7 separate regions of the Homo sapiens genome follow, and all the other regions are linked to region 6. The links are contacts of gene promoters, found by promoter capture Hi-C in blood cells and fetal thymus (Javierre and others, 2016). All regions are on one chromosome and are shown on one strand. Each heading gives the region's core, a stretch centred on a gene start or on the middle of the fragment in contact. The rest is flanking DNA. Distances are from core to core; before and after follow the strand shown.

Region 1 (2,700 bases), core at 144-2,643, 440 kb after region 6:
ATCTGTGTCTGATATGGAGGTGCCAGCGGGGCCCCTGCCTGTGGGGCCAGAGCCTGGGTACCAGAAGGCGATGCTGAACGCTGCAGCTACAATTAGAGCAAGAAGCTCCCCTTTGGAAGGGCAGCTCTAGCCTTCTGAAAAGGGTCACACCAGCAGTTCTTGAGTTTCTCATGTGGGGATAAAAACCCTCATATCATCTCACTACTGTTAAGACTGTTCCAATGACAGAGAGCAGTCGGAGAGAAGGAATGGGAAGTTCTCTCGAATGAGGAGGGTTGAGTTCTGCCTCACGCATACTGCACCACAGGCTGGCGAGGCCAGGAAGGAACTCCCTGAAGAGGGAGCCATGGTGGAGAGCTCGGCAGGCTCACACCTGCCCACTTAGGCTGACCTTGCTGTAGGGAGGCCATGGAAGGTACAGGACTCTCCCTTACATCAGAATTTCAGATCAACGATGGATGTTTTCTTAGTGTAACTGTAAGTATGTCCCACGCAACTGCAGTTGAATTGAGTGTCCTGTATTTTGACTCGTGAACTCTGTCCACGCTGTGAAAGGTGACTGTGATCTTGAGTGCTGCACAGATAAGGAGTCCTTGTTATTTGAGGGAAACAGAACACCCAAAGCAGGTGAATGTCGGGCAGAATCCAAGAAACTGAAGGGATCGAGTAGGTCCAGCTGGGGAGGGGAAGGAAGGACTCAGCATTGACAAGGTTTGGCTCTTTGCCTCAAATTAAAATTGTGGGGAGATTCACCAATCAAGCGTACAGCCTCCTACTGATCCCTGCAGGCCACCTACCACTCGCAAAGGGACACGGCTTGCTAGTAAAAGACTGAGCCAAGCGGATGGGTCTGGGGCAGCTGTGCCCTGTCCATGACTGACCCTGGCTGCCCCCAGGGTGGCAGTGATGCCGCAGCAGCCACTACAGCCACAAGCTGTGACCCCCACAAGCCGTGACCACCACAAGCCATGACGACCACTAGTGGTCATGTGGGCTTTGACATGTAGAGTTTGGAAGTGCTGATTTGCAGCCAAGGAAGTAAAATATAAATATTAAATGTTTAAAATCTCTGATCATTGTGGGTTAAGATATCAAAATTATGCAAAGAGTTTAACGTGGCAAAGATAAAATCCTACACCAACAGACTGCATTATGGCTTCAGTCTCAGGAAGGCCAGGTCTCTTGGCCCCACCCCAGACCTATGGAATCTGAATCTGCATTTGAACCAAGTCCCCAGGTGACTTAGCCACATGTTAACTTTTGGAAAACAGGCACCAGGCCGGGTGCGGTGGCTCATGCCTGTAATCCCAGCACTTATGGGAGGCTGAGGCGGGTGGATCACGAGGTCCAGAGATCGAGACCAACCTGGCCAACATGGTGAAACCCTGTCTCTACTGAAAATACAAAAATTAATTAGCCAGGCGCGGCACCGTGCACCTCTAATCCTAGCTACTCAGGAGGCTGAGGCAGGAGAATTGATTGAACCCGGGAGGCAGAGGTTGCAGTGAGCCGAGATTGTGCCTCTGCACTCCCACCTGGGCAACAGAGTGAGACTCCATCTCAAAAAAAAAAAAAAAAAAGGAAACTTTCTAAATGTCCAACAACATTTCACTAGATACTTAAAAGCTACAACAGAAAAACCAGGAAAATCTCAGTAAATGACCATCCAGGAAGGTGGGCCAGCAGTCTTACAGTGTCCACCCCTGTTATCCCTTGGCCTTTTGCCCAGCCAGTGGGACAAGCCCCTATTCTAGCCTGAGCTTGCTAGGGCTCCCCTTTCCTTGTGGATGCCCTCCTGGCTCCCTCTCCCTCCCCTCAGCATCTGCCTGTGGGATGTTCCCTGCGGAACTTCCTCTTGTCCACGCTGAATTCCTCACGGTGCTGGAGGACCAGCTTGCGCTCTCCTGTCCACGGCCGGGCATCTCCTGGGGATTGGGAACAGCAGGACAATGTGGGCCCGCACCCAAACGCGGCTCAGGAGCCTCTGGCGAGGTGGTGGCTCTTCCCATGGAACTACTGAAAATACTACTCAGTAGCTGTCTTGTATCCAACTAGCAACAATTATTGGTAATATTAACACTAAAAAGCAGATGGGGTGAAATAATCATGGTAAAATTACTAAAAACTGCAAGTAATCTTGTCAACTCTAAATCAGCAAAATTTGCCCTAAAAGAAAGACATGGTAGAAATTAAACTCATAGCCATGCTGCAAAACATCACATGGACTGAAAGTGGATTATTGATCATTTGTCAAGTTTTCTAGGAAAAGAATTAAAGAACTATTTTTTTGAGACGGAGTCTCGCTCTGTCCCCCAGGCTGGAGTGCAGTGGCGCGATCTCGATCTCAGCTCACTGCAAGCTCCGCCTCCCAGGTTCACGCCATTCTCCTGCCACAGCCTCCCGCGTAGCTGGGACTACAGGTGACTGCCACCACGCCCGGCTAATTGTTTTTGTATTTTTTAGTAGAGACGGGGTTTCACCGTGTTAGCCAGGATGATCTCAATCTCCTGACCTCGTGATCCGCCCGCCTCGGCCTCACAAAGTGCTGGGATTACAGGCGTGAGCCACTGCGCCCGGCCAGAAAAAGAATTCTTAACGAAAATAATTTCTATAAGATAAAACTAAAACTGTTGGCCGGCTGTGGTGTCTCACACCTGTAATCCCAGGACTTTGGGACACCAAGGCAGGCGGATCACCTAA
Region 2 (2,700 bases), core at 120-2,619, 440 kb before region 6:
CACAGACAGGAGGTGCAAGGGAGCAGCAGGGCCTGAGGGGATGCACATGTTGCCACAGGATCAAGAGTGAAGAAGCTGAGGTGAGGGCTGTGACTTCCCTAGGTGCTCAGAGAACGCTCCCGAGGCTGAGGCCTGCCCGCCAAGACATTAGGGGGAGGACAGCCTCAAGCAGACCTGGGGACAGGCCCCCAGCAGGGCTCAGGAGCAGAAACCGGCCAGATGCACCCAGCAAGCAGAGGACAGTGGCCAAGGGAGGTGAGTGGCTCACATGACTCGCAGGCCTTGGAGAGGGATCTGCACTTCATTCTAACTGCAATTTTTCACCCAAGAGAAAGGAAGGTAGCCTCGGGTTGGGAGGGACCCATTGTGCAATTTGTTGTAAGGTCAATACACACCTGAGGTGAGCAAAGACCCACTGTGAGTGATCGGAAGAGGGATCATATCCTTCCAATATCTGTGATCGATCCCATCCAACCCTCCCTTTTATGCATGGTGCCTGACGTGGATGCTGCTTCCTCAGATCTACATGTTCAGTACACAGCAGAGCCTAAACTGGAGGTCAGTCTGGTGAGGGTTCTGGTTTGCCCCAAAGAGATGTGGGGTGAATGAGAGAGTGATGGCATCAGGCTCATTTGCTGACCAGAACCCTGGGCTGACCTAGAGAACGGTAACGAAAGCACAGGATAGATGAAGAAGTGGGAGAAATGGGGCCGTGTGTGTGTGTGTGTGTGTGTGTGTGTGTGTGTGTGTGTGTGTGTGTTCTAATATAGGAATGTGCTTGCAATATTACAATATAATGGCAAGTGAAAAAGAAAGGAAACTAAAGAAAAGATAAGGATTTGGAAAGTTCAGTATTTTGACAAAGAGAGAGAACTAAAGACAGAAAAGAAGAAACTGTTCAACAAATAAAGAGATCAGGTTTTTATTTGTTTTTACTGTGAAAAGGAATCATTTGCTACCTACCTCAAAGATACTGAGCCCAAGTCCCTGCTCTGAAATTCAAGCACACTTGTCAAAAATCTAAAACAATTTTCATTCAGTAATAGACACTCAAGCCTTTGGTAAAGATAGGATATCTGGAATAAAGTCAGTTCCCCAACCTCACATAATACACATAAAGTAGGTCAAAATAGGTCCAACTAAAACTCTTAGAATAAAACTCAGGAGTAAATCTTCATGACTTTGGGTAATGTCTTCTTAAATATGGCATCAATTGCACAAAACAACAAAAGGAAAAAACAGATATAGTAGACTTCATCAAAATGATAAACTTTCGTCAGGAGTTCGAAACCAGCCTGGGCAACATAGCAAGACACTGTCTCTATAAAAAATTAAAAATTAAAAACTTTTGTGCTACAAACTATCAAGAAAGTGGGAAAACAATGCACAAAAAATGTTGTCTGTATCAAAATCTTTGCAAATCATGTCTCTGACAAGGACTTATATCCAGAATATATAAAGAATTCTTACAATTCAATAATGAAAACACAACCTAATTTTAAAAATGGGCAAATAATTTGAATAGACATTTATCCAAAGCAGGTATACCAATGGCCAAAGCACATGGAAAGATGCTCAACATCGCTAGTCATTAGGGAAATGCAAACCAAAACCAGAATGAAAGCCTTCTTAATACCCAAGAGGATGGCTATTATCAGAAACATACATACTACCAAGTGTTGGTGAGGATGTGGTGAAATTGGAACTCTCTTACACTGATGGTGGGAATATTGAAGGGTGCAGCCACTTTGGGAAAAAAAATCGGTAGTTCTTCTGTTACTGGTGGAGGGTCTTGACTGCAGGTTGTCCAGTTTCTAGGCATTTCGAACAAAGAATTGGACAAAATGCACAGCAAAGCAAGGAAAGAATGAAGCAACGAAAGCAGAGATTTACTGAAAATGAAAGTATACTCCATAGCGTGGGAGCGGCCCAAGCAGCAGCTCAAGGGCCCCGGATAGAGAATCTTCTTGGGTCCAAATACCCTCTAGAGGTTTCCCATTGGCCACTTGGTGTTCACCCCATGTAAATGAAGTGGTGGCCTGCAATCAGTCTGATTAGTTGCGGAAAGCAACCAATCAGAAGCTAAAGTGAAGTTACAAAGATGCACTCCTATGCAAATGAAGACTTGGCCTACAGTCAGAGGCTGAAGTTACAAAGCTACCTTCCTATGCAAACGTCTGGTTGCAGAAAGCAACCAATTAGAGGTACTTCCAATTTTCCATCTGCCTTGCAGAAAAGGTGGGGGTTTGCAAAGAGAGTAGCCTCTGGTCCTTTTGGTACTTGGGCATGGAAAGCTGGGATTTTTCTTTTGATTTAGTTCTAGGAAGTCAGGGTGAATCAGCCTTAGGTTTCCTGCCTCCAGATCCTATTCTCCCCCACTTCAAAAAGTTAAACATATTACCATAAGACCCAGCATATGACTCACCATATGACTCAGCCACTTCTACTCTCTTGGATATATATTCGATAGAAACAAAGACATATATCACATACACACTTGTACTTGGATGTTCAGAGCAGCATTATTCATAAAAGCCAAACCCAGAAACAATGCAAATGTCCATCAACAGATAAACGGAGAAGCAAAACGTGGTCTATACATACAATGAAATATTACTTGGCTGGGTGCCATGGCTCACGCCTGTAATCCCAGCACTTTGGGAGGCTGAGGCAGGTGGATCACCTGAGGTCAGGAGTTTG
Region 3 (2,700 bases), core at 164-2,663, 510 kb after region 6:
AAGCTTACTAAATCCTTAGAAATGCAAAATTGTCCTATAGCACAACTGAATTTAAGGCAAGAATAATTTGCTGAAGTATACTATATGTATATTCATATATGTATTTATATTTATATATATACACCATATGTATAATGTATTTCTATTTATATAATACAGTAGTGGCATGTTTATCTAGTTTCAAGTTAGTTACCAAGATTATGTATACAAACAGTATTTAACAGAAAGGTAGTATAACAAAGCACTTGCTCTGACATACACTTGTGGATCTCCCAAATATTATAGATATTTGTTCCCTTCAGTGAGTAAAAATTTTCTTTGCACTCTTAACGCAATTACTTTGGTAGTAACCTTTTTTCCCACAGGTAATCCAAATACAAAATTTGAACTAACTCAGGTCCAAATTGCCACCAATCTTAAATAAATGAAGTATTGAATAAATGAGTTATTTCTATCAAAAATGAATTTCATAGATTTAAATATAAAAGTGATCTACATCAGGCTGGGTGCAGTGGCTCACACCTGTAATTCCAGCACTTTGGGAGGCCAAGACAGGTGGATTGCTTGAGCTCAGGAGCTCAAGGCCAGCCTAGACAACATGGCAAAACCCCATCTCTACCAAAAATACAAAAAAATTAGCCAGGCGTGGTGGTGCAGGCCTGTGGTCCCAGCTACTTGGTAAGCTGAGGTGGGAGGATTACTTGAGTCCGGGAAGCAGACGTTGCAGTGAGCCAAGATAGTGCCATTACACTCCAGCCTGGGCAACAGAGCCAGACCCTGTCTCAAAAAAAAAAAAACAAAAACAGAAACATGGATAAATGAAAGTCAAAACCGAGTAGTAGAGACATGATGGTCCATCTGCCTTTGTATATGTCTTAAGTATCTGTAATATATAACGAACTCTCAAAATTTAATAAGAAAATGTCCCAATGAAAAGATGAGCAAAAGATGTGAAAAGGCACTTCACCAAAGGAGATAAGTTAGATGGCAAATGAGCACATAAAAAGAGTAACATAATTAGCCATTAATGCAAATTCAAGCCACAAATTAATACTATTATACATTTAATAAGAGTGGCTAAAATTAAGACTGCTCACACTAAGTGTTGACAATGATGATGAGGACCTGGAACTCTCATACACTTTTGGTGGGAATGGAAAATGATATAACCACTTTGGAAAACAGTTTGGCAGTTTTTCTTTCTTTCTTTTTTTTTTTTTTTTTTTGGATGGAGTTTCGCTCGTTGCCCAGGCTGGAGTGCAATGATGCAATCTCGGCTCACTGCAACCTCTGCCTCCCAGGTTCAAGTGATTCTCCTGCCTCAGCCTCCCGAGTAGCTAGGATTACAGGCATGCACCACCACGCCCAGCTAATTCTTTGTATTTTTAATAGAGACGGGGTTTCACCATGTTGGCCAGGCTGGTCTTGAACTCCTGATCTCGGGTGATCCACCCGCCTCGTTCTCCCAAAGTGCTGGGATTACAGGCATAAGCCACCGCACCGGGCTGGCAGTTTCTTAAAAAGTTAAACAGCCATTCTACTTCTAGATGTATACCCAAGAGAAAGAACATATATATTCACACAGACTTGTGTGTGAATGTTCATAGCAGCTTTATTTGTAACAGCAAAAAAACTGCAGATGATCCAAAAATCCATCAACATTTTAAAGGTAGAAAGCTGAGAAAAAGTTAACTTGCTCAGATTATAAAGAGAATAAATGGCAGGGCCAGAATATTAACTCAGGTCTAAAGGCTTACCAAGCCCAGTGTTCTTTCCCCTACACAAAACTATACTGAGGTATCTTCCAGAATGACTGCATGATAGATGCTCAAATACCAACCACATTCATATCAATAAGGCCAGAAAGTAAGTTAAGTTTGCTCCTTAGTCTAGGGAGATAAGAAGCTAAGATGACTTAAAAGTTAGGAGAGTTAAGAAATGAATGTGGAGGAAGCAGCATTGATGATGTCACCAGCTCAAAGATCTGTGCTAAAAGCAGAGCAAGTTCCAGACCCTCTTATAGAAATTAGAGGGAATACCTCCTCAGCCAAAATTCCATAGGTGTGCCATCCAGACTTCTGCCCAAAACACTAAGTTAGGTTTATTCTCAGCTCCAATTTAAAAACAACAACACAACTCTAATTCAAATTTAGGAACTTTCAAATTCTTTTACTCCAAAATATAAAAAAAAGATGTAATACAAACATAGGAGCAAGGTAACAATAGTTTAATAAACATACATTCATTGTTTTGAGGAGACTGAGAGAAAAGGACCAGAAATAATAAACCAGAGATCAAACAAATGTGGCAGCAGACTTCTGAACTTTACCTCCTGAGGTCTATTTATCTTTCACAGGCAGGAACAAACAAAAAGTATGCATTTAGGTGTCTTGGTTTTTTATTTTTTGGAGGGGGGAGGGCAGTGGATCGTGTAGCTACAGGCCCAAGCATATTTACAAAGGGGTTTTTCTCTCTGTCTCTCTCTCTCTCTCTTTCAATTTTATGTGGGAAGTTGTTAGCAGAGGTATCATTAATTGATCCAACACACATGTGGGTACCACTGAAACCATTTTAAAAGCACTCTTTTCTAAGATATCAATGATATTATCTCTAAATAAAGATCTCTCCATCCAGGCTTGTTGGCAGCAGTCAAAACAGGCTACCAGGTCTCACGACTCACCCTCCCAAATCCCTATTTAA
Region 4 (2,700 bases), core at 152-2,651, 370 kb after region 6:
CTCGGTAACTGCTGAGCCGGGGGCGCGCTGAAGCCCTGCAGAAGCCCACACCCGCTTCAGGAATTCCGTGGATGTTCCCGACAGAGGTTTATTCCCGCCTATCCCTACAGGCCCACGGCGCTCTTTCCTCCAATCCCACACCCAGTCGAAGGCGGGGCAGCCGCCCCACCCAGCGGCCAGCCGGGCGGCCCCCAGTCTGGTTTAACTGGTTGGAACGACTAAAGCACGCTGGCGCAAGGAAAGCTCTCAACTTCGGGAGCTGAGGCGCAGGCTGGCCAGAGCGTGGAGAGGAAAGCCCTTTCCATCCTCAAGGCCGTTGCAGGAGATGCCCGCGAGCCACCTTCGCCAGCACCACACCGGGGTAAGCCGTCCGTCCCCGAAACCCGCAAGGCCACCGACTGCGCAGGCGCCTGCAGAGCACTGGCCCTCGGCGCGTTCTCTCGCGCTCTTCTTCAGTCTCCTCAGCGAGCCTGGGGACGAAGGGGGCGCGGTGCCTCCTGGGTGTTGTAGTTTGCTTCCTTGGCGAGAGGCCTTCGGGCTGGCTGGACGCCGGGGCCTTGGGAACTACGCCTCCCAGCGCGCCCCGCGCGAGAGCCCAGGTCGCCTGCCCTTGACGGCTTCAGCCGTCTGAGCGGAGAGGAGGATCCGGGAAGCCGGCTGCGGCGGGAGGAGGGAATGCGCGTGCGCGCTGGACCGCCTCGTCCCGTTCCGTCCCAATCATTGTAAACAGGCAGAGGCTGGGCGGGGTGGGAATGGGGCGCCCGAGGCCGGCCTGGGGCGCAGCGCAGGAGGCGGCTCCGGTGGCTGCGGCGGCAGCGTGAGCGCGAGGAGGCGGAGGCTGCGGCGGGGCGGACGGTCGCGCGGCGGCAGGCACAGGTCAGTCGCAGGGAGCGGTCGCGTGCTAGGGTCGCGGCGATACCCCTGGAGTGCCCGAGGAACCCTCTCCCGCGCCGGCCTCGCGCCCGCGTCTGTCAGGCAGCGTGTGGGGCTCGGTGCTCGCAGCGCTCGGGTTTGAAGTTGGGGGTGGGGGGCGTGGCTGCCCCTGGCGTGGGTTCCTCCCCGGAAAGCTTCGCCCCAGTTTTCGCCCCCCTTGGCCGTGCGTCCCTCCCACTGGCCGACGGGCCTCCCTTCGTGGCGTCCTCGTTTGTGGTGCTCTCGGGGGCCGGGGGTGGAGAGTTAGGAGTCCCCAGGCCTCGGGGAAGCTCTTGGGGGGCGCCTGGACAGAGGCTAGGGGACCCAGCCCTCACGGTTGGTGGATCGTGCCCGGCATAGTGGCCAGGCTCCAGGGCTTACCCAGGGGACCAGGACAGGCTCCTGGTGTCGCCCACCGCTGGCACTGAGCAGTGGGCGCCTTTGGGTGCTGCGATCCTTCCTTCAGGTTTCAGTGGGAATGGACAGACAGATCTGAAGTTGAAAATTCTTTTCACAACTCATGTTCAACTATGTGTGTTGTCAGAATGCTCTTAATGAGGTCAGTGTTCTCCCTCTTTTTTTTAAAACTGATCGTTGTGAGAGTGAAACAGGTTTTACAGAATATTTAACACCTCCGTCTTCCCTGAAGTAATTCTGCTGTTTCAAGTTTTGGGATTCAGTATTACAAAGCCTTCCTCTTGAGCAAGGCCTAGTACAATTCTTCAAGGTCCCTAGCATGTTAATTCGAGGTGTTTTGAACGTGCATATACAGGAAGTGCAGCCGTTTGGCCGTTGAGTTAGTGCTCCATCCAGCCTTGTTAGAAAAGCTTTCGCTGAATTTTTAATTTAGTGGAGTGGTCATGTTCTAATGCTGCAGTACTTTGGGGAGTATTCCATTATACTTGGCAGTTATTAACGAAATACTGAACTTGTGATAAGGTTTTGTTTTGGTGCTCAGCATTTCTAAATGAATAAGTGGGACTGTGAATAAGAAAGATCACCTCACTTTCTGTTTTTAGAGTTATTGTGGTCATTTGATAACTCCTTTCTGTCTTTGTGAAAATAATTACTGTAAGCTGGAGTGGCGGTAGTAGGGGTAGGAAGGAGGTCAGTAGAGTGGTTTCCACCTCTCATTCAAAGTATCTGGTAGATCCAAGTGGGGTAGGTTAGTTAACAGTAGCTTTTTTTTTTTTTTTTTAGTTTTTTATTTTTTGAGACAGAGTTTCGCTCTTGTTGCCCAGGTTGGAGTGCAATGGCATGATCTCAGCTCACCACAGCCTCTGCCTCCTGGGTTCAAACGATTCTGCTGCCTCAGCCTCCTGAGGGGATTACAGGCATGCGCCATCACGCCCGGCTAATTTTATATTTTTAGTAGAGACATTTTCTCCATGTTGGTCAGGCTGGTCTTGAACTCCCGACCTCAGGTGATCTGCCCGCCTAGGCCTCCCAAAGCGCTGGGATTACAGGCGTGTGCCACCGCGCCCTGCCAACAGTAGTAGCTTTTGAGAAGTGACTCTTTAAACAAGGTATCTCGAAACAATGTAATACAACTTAGTTTGCTTTCTCTTCAGGATATTGTTTCTAATTATGGATCTTATCCAGACTATTTCTCCCCTAATTTAGAATAGGAAAGTGGTATCAGAAAGTGCATAATAACTTTAATTTGTACAGTTATATTTGCATAGTTGTTTGCTTGGCAAGAAGAGATCGGGCCCAGCATGTAACCCAAAAGAATATTGTTTCTGTTTTGAAAGATCCCTGATAGAAACTTATGTTAGTTTGTATAAG
Region 5 (2,700 bases), core at 167-2,666, 390 kb after region 6:
TACATGGCAATTGGTTGATGTCTTTTAAGTCTTTCTTTTTTTTCAAGGTAATGTGTCATTTTTTTGTAGTATTTTTGTGTTTCTTAACCTTTTACAAAAATAGACTTTATTTTTAAAGCTGCGTTTGTGTTAGAGTTCGCTCCTGGTATGCTGTACATTCCGTGTGTTTAGACAAATGAATAATGAACATGTGTCCACCACTAAAGTACCAATACAGAATAGCTTCACTGCCCCAACAATCCTCTGTGTTCCACCTATTCATTTCTTCCTCCTCCCTAAACCCTGGCTACTACTAATCCTTCTACTGTCTCTATAGTTTTGCTTTTTGCAGAATGTCATATGGCCTTTTTAATTAACGTCTTTTTTTTTGAGACAAGGTCTTGCTTTGTCGTGCAGGTTGGGGTGAAGCGCTGGGATCTCAGCTCACTGCTGAGCCTCTACCTGCTAGGCTCAGGTGATCCTCCCATCTCAGCCTCCCAAGTAGCTGGGACTACAGGTGTGCACCACCACACCCAGCTAATTTTTTCTTTTTTTTTTTTGGGTAGAGATGAGGTTTTGCCATGTTGCCCAGGCTGTTCTCTGACTGCTGTGCTTAAGCAGTCCGCCCACCTTGGTCTCCAAAAGTGCTGGGATCGCAGTTGTCAGCCACTGTGCTCAACTTCTTTTACTTAGTAATATGCATTTACATTTCCTCTGTATCTTTTCATGACTTGATAGCTCATCTCTTTTTAGCACTAAATAATATTCCATTATCTGGATATACCACAGTTTATCCATTGCTGCCTTTTTTGGGGGGATTTATAATATACCTGCTATAAACATCTATGTGCCGGTTTTTGCATGTACATAAGTTCTCAATTCATTTGGGTAAATACCAAGGAGTGCGATTGATGGATCATATAGGAAGAGTATGTTTAGTTTTGTAAGAAACTGCCAAGCTTTCTTCCAAAGTGGCTGTGCCATATTGCATTCCTATCAGCCATGGATAAAAGTTCCTGTTGCTCTATATCCTTGCCAGCATTTGGTGGTGGTAGCATTTTGGGTTTTGCCATAATAATGGTATGTGGTAGTATCACATTGTTTTAATTGGTAGTTCTCCAATGATATAGCATGCTGAGCATCTTCTCATGTGCTTATTTTCCATTTACATATCTTTGGTGAGGTGCCTGTTCAGGTCTTTTGCCCATTTAAACAAAATGAATTGTTTTCTTACTGTTTAGTTTAAAGAGTTTTTTTTTTTTTTTTTTTTTTTTGAGACAAAATTCCCCCAGGCTGGAGTGCAATGGCACTATCTTGGCTCACTGCAACCTCTGCCTCCCAGGTTCAAGCGATTCTCCTGCCTCAGCCTCCCGATTAGCTGGGATTACAGGCGCCTGCCACCATTCTCGGCTAATTTTTGTGTTTTTAGTAGAGACGGGATTTTCATGTTGGCCAGGCTGGTCTCGAACTCCTGACTTCAGGTGATCCGCCTGCCTTGGCCTCCCAAAGTGCTGGGATTACAGGCATGAGCCACCGCACCTGGCCTAAAGAGTTCTGTGTATATTTTTGGGTAATAGTACTTTATTGGATATATTTTCTATAAGTATTTTATTTCAATGTGGCTTGTCTTTTCAATCTTTCAGTCTTAAGACTCTTAATTTTTATGTTCACCCTCCCTCTCTTTTTTTTTTCCAGAGCATTAACTAAAGAAACTAAATTGTATATCCTATAGATTTTGCAGCTTGATCTGTGTGATATGAGATATATAGATCTATCTGTTTATCTATCTGTCCATATATGTTTTCATCCAGAATTCCTGGCTCATAACTCCCATAGCCCCTGTTATTTCTTAAGTGACTTAAACAATAAGCATATCTTTTGTTAAAGTATTTTGCCTTTTGTCTTTGGTTCCTGAAGAAGCTTTGAAACAGCTTCTGAGCAATAAAGGTGAAAGACAGTCTTTTGTTATAATGTTGGAGTACTTTAGATCTCAGAAGTAGGCCTCAGAAGACAGATCTCTCTCTCTCTGGCCTTCTCCTGGTCTTTGTTCACTTGCTCATTTTTCTCCCCAAGGCAGGCCATAGAAACTAAAAACATGCTCTAATCTTCCCCCGGCTTTCTGTCCACAAGCTGGCCATAAAGGAATTCTCTGACTTACATTGTCTGATTTTAGGTCATAAGACCCCCATTTCAAAATGGATCTTGTCCCATACCATGGAGGAAGCAATGCTGCACAGAGAGGCCAAGAAGAATCTGAACAAAACAGGCCTTACTGGGTTTCCCCACTCAATCTATTAGTATTAGATTATACCCTTTTTGTTCAGTCGCATTTCTGCATGTTTGTCCATACTTCAACATGCCTATCCAATGAAGTCTCCATCAAAAATTTAAGAAGATGGGGTTCCGAGAGCTTTTTGATTGCAGAACAGGTAGAAGTTCCTGGAGGTTAGTGTAGCCAGAGAGGGCACGGAAGCTCTGCACTCCTTCCTACATGCCTTGCCCTGTGCATCTCTTCATCTATACCCTTTGTGTATCCTTTATAATAAACTGAACATAAGTGTAAACCTAAGTGTATTCCTAGGTTCTGTGAGCTGCTCTAGGAAATTAATCAAACCCAAGGCAGGGGTCATGGGAACCATGATTTATAGCTGGTCCCATCAGAAGTGTTACTGGAAAGATGTCCTGATCAGAACCCAGGATAGGGTTTTTAGACCTCACCCA
Region 6 (2,700 bases), core at 131-2,630:
TCCCGAGTAGCTGGGACTACAGGCGCCTGCCACCATGCCCGGCTAATGTCTTGTATTTTCAGTAGAGACGGGGTTTCACCGTATTAGCCAGGATGGTCTCGATCTCCTGACCTCGTGATCTGCCCACCTCAGCCTCCCAAAGTGCTGGGATTACAGGCGTGAGCCACGCGCCCGGCCAGGTGTATAAGTATTTAGGTAACTTTATAACAAAATACATTTACATTAAGGGCCAGACTGTCTTTTCCTTTTAAAGGGAAATACTGAAGCTAATTTAGGAGAGGCAAACTAACATAAAATATAAGGCAAAGGAGTGGGAACCAAGGCATTTGGTATCTATTTCTAGCTCACTGGGCAGCAGTCCTCTGTGTCTTGAATTCTGTGATTTGCGAAATATGATTCATAGGGGTTGCAATGGAATATTTCTGAGTTTTTAAACTAATGAGGGATAAATTTTTAAAATCCCTGTGCTGCTGTGAATGTTCTAGAAATTATTCACAAGTTTATTATAGCAAAGAAAATGGGCAAAAGGAAGGGGGTGGGTACAGGACGTGACACTCCAGAAAAGAAGGCAGTGACGTAAAAAATCAAGAGGAAGTCCACACCAGGAAATAGTGCTGTGCACATTAGAGCTGTTACTGAATAAATACTTGTTGGAATTTCCAGAGATAACCAAACAAACATGAAGAAGGAAGTGGGTTTTTTTTTCAGCTTTATTATGGAAAATATCTAATATGTACAAAAGTACCGAGAATAGTAAATAAGAACGACCATGCAGCTTCTATGGCCTTACTTAACGGCCAACTTGCTTTATTTTTCACCTCCCGCTCCCCACTATTCTCAAGCAAATTCCAGACATCATACCATTTAACCCCTAAATATGTCGCACATATCTCTAATGCAAAAGATTGGGAACCAAGACATTTGGTGTCTATGGCTAGCACACTGGATAGCAGCCCTCTGTGTCTTGAATTCGTAACATGTAGAATAAGATTTATAGTGGGTTGCAACCCGACTTTATTTTTAACTAACAGCAATATAAGAGGAGGTGGCTAATCCTCACAAGGCTCTCCATGAGGGAAGCTCACCCCTATAAATCCAGGCGGGCGCTTCGTTACCCAGGAGCCCAAGGTGCAGCTCCGGGACGCTTCTTTTCAAGGCCGGGACCCCTGCAGCGGCCCGTAGGACACCTCCCTTTCCGAGCACGGACTGGTCCCCGCCCCTCCCCCGGGAAGTCTCCGCCCACAGGGCCCCAGCAGCCCCCGCGCGCCCTCGCTCCCTCCCGTCAGCCCCCGCCCCTCGGCGAAGGGAGCGGCGTGCCGTCCGGGTCGCCTAGGCCTGGGGTCGGGAGCGCGCACGCTGTGCGCCCTGGGCGCGCTCGGGATTCTCGCCTGGCGCGGCTGGGGAAGGTGAACAGTGTGGCCCGCCATGTTCTTCTCCGCGGCGCTCCGGGCCCGGGCGGCTGGCCTCACCGCCCACTGGGTAAGGAGGCTCAAGCTGAGCCCGGCGCTGCCGCCGCCCTTCTCTTGCTCTCCGTGTCTCCCTTAGTTTTGGGCGCAGGAGAGCCCTGGGCTCTGCACGGGCCTGCAGGCGGCGGCAAGGACACTGCGGCCTTAGCCCTCTTAGGGAGGCCGCTGCAGCCCCACCGTGAGAAGCCCCGAGGGAGGGTTGCCATACTGGGAAGTGTACTCCTAGTTTGGTCGAGGAGGACAGAAAAGAGGGGCTGCTTGGTGATATATATATATATGTTTGTTTGTTTTTGCTGTTTTGCTGTAGCGCAGAATCTAGGCCTGCTCTGGCCAGATCAGTTTCGAAGACCGTCGCTCCGAAGGAGGCACCTCTCGTTTCAAGCCTAGTGACCTCGATGCTTTTAGGTTGCAGCATACTGGAGAGCTCTGGCTTGCTTCGTGAAGGCTTAGGGAGAACTTCATTAGGGCTGGAAAAGGGTGGCCAATGTTTGATTTACTGCAGTTGTGCTTTGCATATCGGAAATGCTGGCTAAATAAACGGTATCAAACTAACTCTGAAAGAACGGCGCCGCAAATAACAGCACCCAATTAAAGAACCACAGGATTTTAGAGATTAAATGATCTTTTTGAGATCCAAGTACATCTCATGGTAGGCAAGGAAATTGAATTGCAGAGAAGTTGAAACACTCCTTCACGTTAATCTAAAAATGCAGATTTCCAGAAATGTCGATTATAACAACAGGGCCTGTTACACAAGTAATACTGGAAAGAAGCCTTAGTTTTGTTTGTTTTCTAAGAGTGAAATAGGTTAAGTCAGTTCTCAGCAAGAGGGAGCTAGTGTATATTCATTGAGAATGAATTCAGGGCTTTAGAGTTAGACTCGAGTTTGGATGTTAGCTTAACTGCCTTTTGTGGCTCTATGACTTTGTGCTGTTAATCTTCCTCAGTTTCTTCAGTTGTAAAATGGGAATATTCCTTTTTGCAGAGTTCAGTCTTTCAATAAACATTTGAAGTCTTACTGTACGTCATGCACTGCTGAGCTCTAGTTAACAGTGTGGATAATAATGATAGTCATTTGATAACTGTTTTCTGTATGCCAAGCACCGAGTTAAATATCTACATTCCACATCTCATTTTTGAGGCTGGTATTACTTTTTCCTCATATTACAGATAAGGAAAAGATTTAGACAGTTCCCGTTCTTTTGGAATTGATAGTCTCATGTAAGAGGAACTT
Region 7 (2,700 bases), core at 114-2,613, 470 kb after region 6:
AATATTACTGAAGATCAGCAATACAAGTAGTATTGCCTGGACATTAAGACATACCTCATTACAATGGAAGAAGAATCAAGGAATTGAACTACCTTTAAATAGCTATTGCAGTAATGCTACACACCGGTAGGCGGCAAACATGGCCTTGATAGGCACACTGTTGAGGTCAGTGAAGTTTTACTGGAACACAGCCAAGCTTGTCCATTTATGTAATGTCTACGGCTGCTTATACACTGCAAAGGCCGAGTGAGTAGTTGTGAAACAGAAGAAAGTTTACCAGCTCGTCCTATACAGTTCTCTGCAAATTTATAGTTTCTTACTAGACCCATTTCAGATTTTAAAACAGAAGTTATGTAACAGTCTTCAGTATAAACAGGTAATTTTTTAAGTATGCTGATTTCAAAAATGAAAAATAGATAACATTCCCCACCCACCATCATCACTTTTGTCAAAGTCCTGGCAGCACCTGTTTTCAAAAAAACTGACAGACTTTGCTTGCTAGGAAGACAGGTTTGAGTGATTTTCTTCCTTTACAAAAAACAGTACCTCAGGTTTGTTTGGCTATTCAGCAGGACAGTAGGAGAACGGGCAAAAAGGTAAAACAAGGCAGCAGAGAAGAAAGAAGAACTGCCAAATCAAAACACCAAGAAAGCAAATAGCACAGTATCAAGACCTACAGAAGAAAATGTCCATTAGCATCATGACAAGGGAGGGAAAAGACACTATGGTAACTCAAGCATTATAGCAGGGACTGTTTCAAATATTTGTACTAAAATTACTTCAAGTGCATAACTGTAAAAGTTTGTGTACATTTCCCGCATACTAGTAAGTTAGGCTTGAATTAGTTTTTCCCCTAAATATATATTATAATAAATTTTTAAAATTTAAATTTAATAGAAAATTTTCAATGCAAAAACATTTAAAAATAAAAATCACAGCCGACTCTTTAAGCTTTATTTAAAACTTTGGTTTCCTTATGAGACTGATATACTTAAAACTGATATACTGGCTAATATACTGGCTTTCTCCTTTAACTGACAGATTACAATCACCATTGACAAAGAATCCAAGATGCGCAACTAAATTATTTGACAGAAAAGGACAATAAAACATATTCCTAAATTAAGTTTTACTCCTTAAAAACAAATTTAAAAAAACCCAAATACTACACAGTGTGTAACAATTACCCTGTATATTGTAGATATCAATGAATGATTGACTAAATAATGTACTAAATAAACATTTTTTAAAAGTCATAATCTACCATTTAGAGTTTCCTATGTGCGAGGCATCTAGCTAATTGTGTTACATGCATCTACTCATTCAATATGTAACCAACCAAAGAGATACTTAACAAACAAATGCGCTTAAAGTAAAGCTCTATAAAAATATTCACCAATTTTTATATTCAAGAGAAATAGCAAACTATCAAAAAATAACATTTGTTGCAGAATAGTGGAAATAATGTTTAAAAGCAGTAAAATTAGAAAACAAGGTTTTAAAATTAGAAAATGGTTTCAAAATTATACCTATTTTTGTTTTCTACTGACATCTCTTCTGAACTTTTGCTTTCTTCTTTAAAATACTGGCCTGAGCTAGATGGATTAGCAAAAGTAGATATGAAAGGTCCCAGAGACTGAAAAGCTGCTTGGCGAACCTAGGAAGATAAAAAGGACAATAATAAAGGAATCATTTTGAAAAAGAATTATATACGCACACATTATGTATATTTAATAATCTACTTTCAAATGCCGAAGTATGTTTAGGATAATAATGAAGCTTTTCTAAAGGAAGCCCAGATTCAGAACTTTAGCTAGGACTGAAAAATTCTTACAAGCTATTTTCTCTGGCTGGGCGCAGTGGCTCATGCCTGTAATCCCAGCACTCTGGGAGGCTGAGCTGGGCAGATCGCTTGAGTCCAGCAGTTTGAGACCAGCCTGGGCAACATGGCGAAATCCAGTCTCTACAAAAAATACCAAAGTTAGCAGGGCGTGGTGGCGCATGCCTGTGGTCCCAGCTACTCGGCAGGGCCTGAGGTGGAAGAAGCGCGTGAACCCATGAGGCTAAGTCTGTAGTGAGCCGTGATCACACCACTGTACTCCAGCCTGGGTGACAGAGCAAGACTGTCTAAAAAAAAAACCCCAAACAAACCCCTATTTGCTCTTTTTTACTTTCAATTGTTTTTATCCTCTCTTGAATGTTTGAACCATGATAATCTAAGTATGAGATACTATGAAACATTTGCATAGAACAAAACTAAAGAAGGTCCTGCTGTGTTCTCAAGAACAAAAAGAATAAGGAAAACCAAGAGTGCCACAAAGAACATAAAAATCAATAAAGCCAACAAAATGTGATAAATACATTTAATGTTTTCAGGTAGGAAAGACTTTAATTTGTTCACTAGAAGGAAGCAAGACAGACGTACCAGAAACATAATGTTAACTTAAAGTATGTCACAAAGATCTTGAAGCATATACTATTGTTCTTGATGACTGTCTCATGTAGGAGGGGTGATAAAGAAGTTATAGAATTCCACTTCATGTCGTATTTCTGTATTATTTTTAAAATCAGGAATTTTTAAAACATTTGAAAATGAGAGGTTTTATGGAAGGATGGACACAATCGGACAAAGGCAACAACAATGGGAAACTGGTATGTTACTAAAACCTTGACTTTGCCACACACCAATTTCCCTGAAGT

Evidence for each region. Contacts are between HindIII fragments. The CHiCAGO score rates a contact against its expected background, and 5 or more counts as called.
Region 1: a contact is called between a fragment that was not itself captured here and the fragment with the promoter of NDUFV2 in region 6, in 1 of 17 cell types (M2 macrophages). The highest score is 5.6, in M2 macrophages.
Region 2: a contact is called between a fragment that was not itself captured here and the fragment with the promoter of NDUFV2 in region 6, in 1 of 17 cell types (naive B cells). The highest score is 5.8, in naive B cells.
Region 3: a fragment that was not itself captured here is called in contact with the fragment with the promoter of NDUFV2 in region 6 in 1 of 17 cell types (erythroblasts); the score reaches 7.1 in erythroblasts.
Region 4: a fragment that was not itself captured here is called in contact with the fragment with the promoter of NDUFV2 in region 6 in 11 of 17 cell types (megakaryocytes, erythroblasts, fetal thymus and 8 more); the score reaches 11.7 in megakaryocytes.
Region 5: a contact is called between a fragment that was not itself captured here and the fragment with the promoter of NDUFV2 in region 6, in 6 of 17 cell types (M2 macrophages, erythroblasts, naive CD8 T cells and 3 more). The highest score is 7.1, in M2 macrophages.
Region 7: a fragment that was not itself captured here is called in contact with the fragment with the promoter of NDUFV2 in region 6 in 1 of 17 cell types (M0 macrophages); the score reaches 5.3 in M0 macrophages.

What each region holds. Positions count from the first base shown.
Region 1 is chr18:9,539,807-9,542,506 of GRCh38, forward strand. No RefSeq gene overlaps it. Among named protein-coding and RNA genes, the nearest start is that of RALBP1, 66 kb to the left of the region's middle. The HindIII fragment of the contact is 6,194 bases long and covers 1-2,700 here.
Region 2 is chr18:8,663,342-8,666,041 of GRCh38, forward strand. No RefSeq gene overlaps it. Among named protein-coding and RNA genes, the nearest start is that of RAB12-AS1, 28 kb to the left of the region's middle. The HindIII fragment of the contact is 6,278 bases long and covers 1-2,700 here.
Region 3 is chr18:9,606,577-9,609,276 of GRCh38, forward strand. The region is part of intron 2 of PPP4R1 (protein phosphatase 4 regulatory subunit 1); the gene reads right to left. Among named protein-coding and RNA genes, the nearest start is that of PPP4R1, 6.6 kb to the right of the region's middle. The HindIII fragment of the contact is 2,824 bases long and covers 2-2,700 here.
Region 4 is chr18:9,474,816-9,477,515 of GRCh38, forward strand. It overlaps RALBP1 (ralA binding protein 1), which reads left to right and starts at 698. Exons shown (of 10, transcript NM_006788.4): 1 at 698-876. RefSeq lists a silencer at 629-1,038 and enhancers at 662-1,530, 1,269-1,328. The HindIII fragment of the contact is 672 bases long and covers 1,066-1,737 here.
Region 5 is chr18:9,491,896-9,494,595 of GRCh38, forward strand. All of the region lies in intron 1 of RALBP1 (ralA binding protein 1), which reads left to right. Among named protein-coding and RNA genes, the nearest start is that of RALBP1, 18 kb to the left of the region's middle. The HindIII fragment of the contact is 961 bases long and covers 937-1,897 here.
Region 6 is chr18:9,101,319-9,104,018 of GRCh38, forward strand. NDUFV2 (NADH:ubiquinone oxidoreductase core subunit V2) reads left to right here and starts at 1,381. Exons shown (of 8, transcript NM_021074.5): 1 at 1,381-1,479. The coding sequence starts at 1,426. RefSeq lists a silencer at 1,109-1,468 and an enhancer at 1,741-2,450. The HindIII fragment of the contact is 6,653 bases long and covers 1-2,700 here.
Region 7 is chr18:9,575,535-9,578,234 of GRCh38, forward strand. It overlaps PPP4R1 (protein phosphatase 4 regulatory subunit 1), which reads right to left. Exons shown (of 20, transcript NM_001042388.3): 10 at 1,530-1,657. Among named protein-coding and RNA genes, the nearest start is that of PPP4R1, 38 kb to the right of the region's middle. The HindIII fragment of the contact is 828 bases long and covers 950-1,777 here.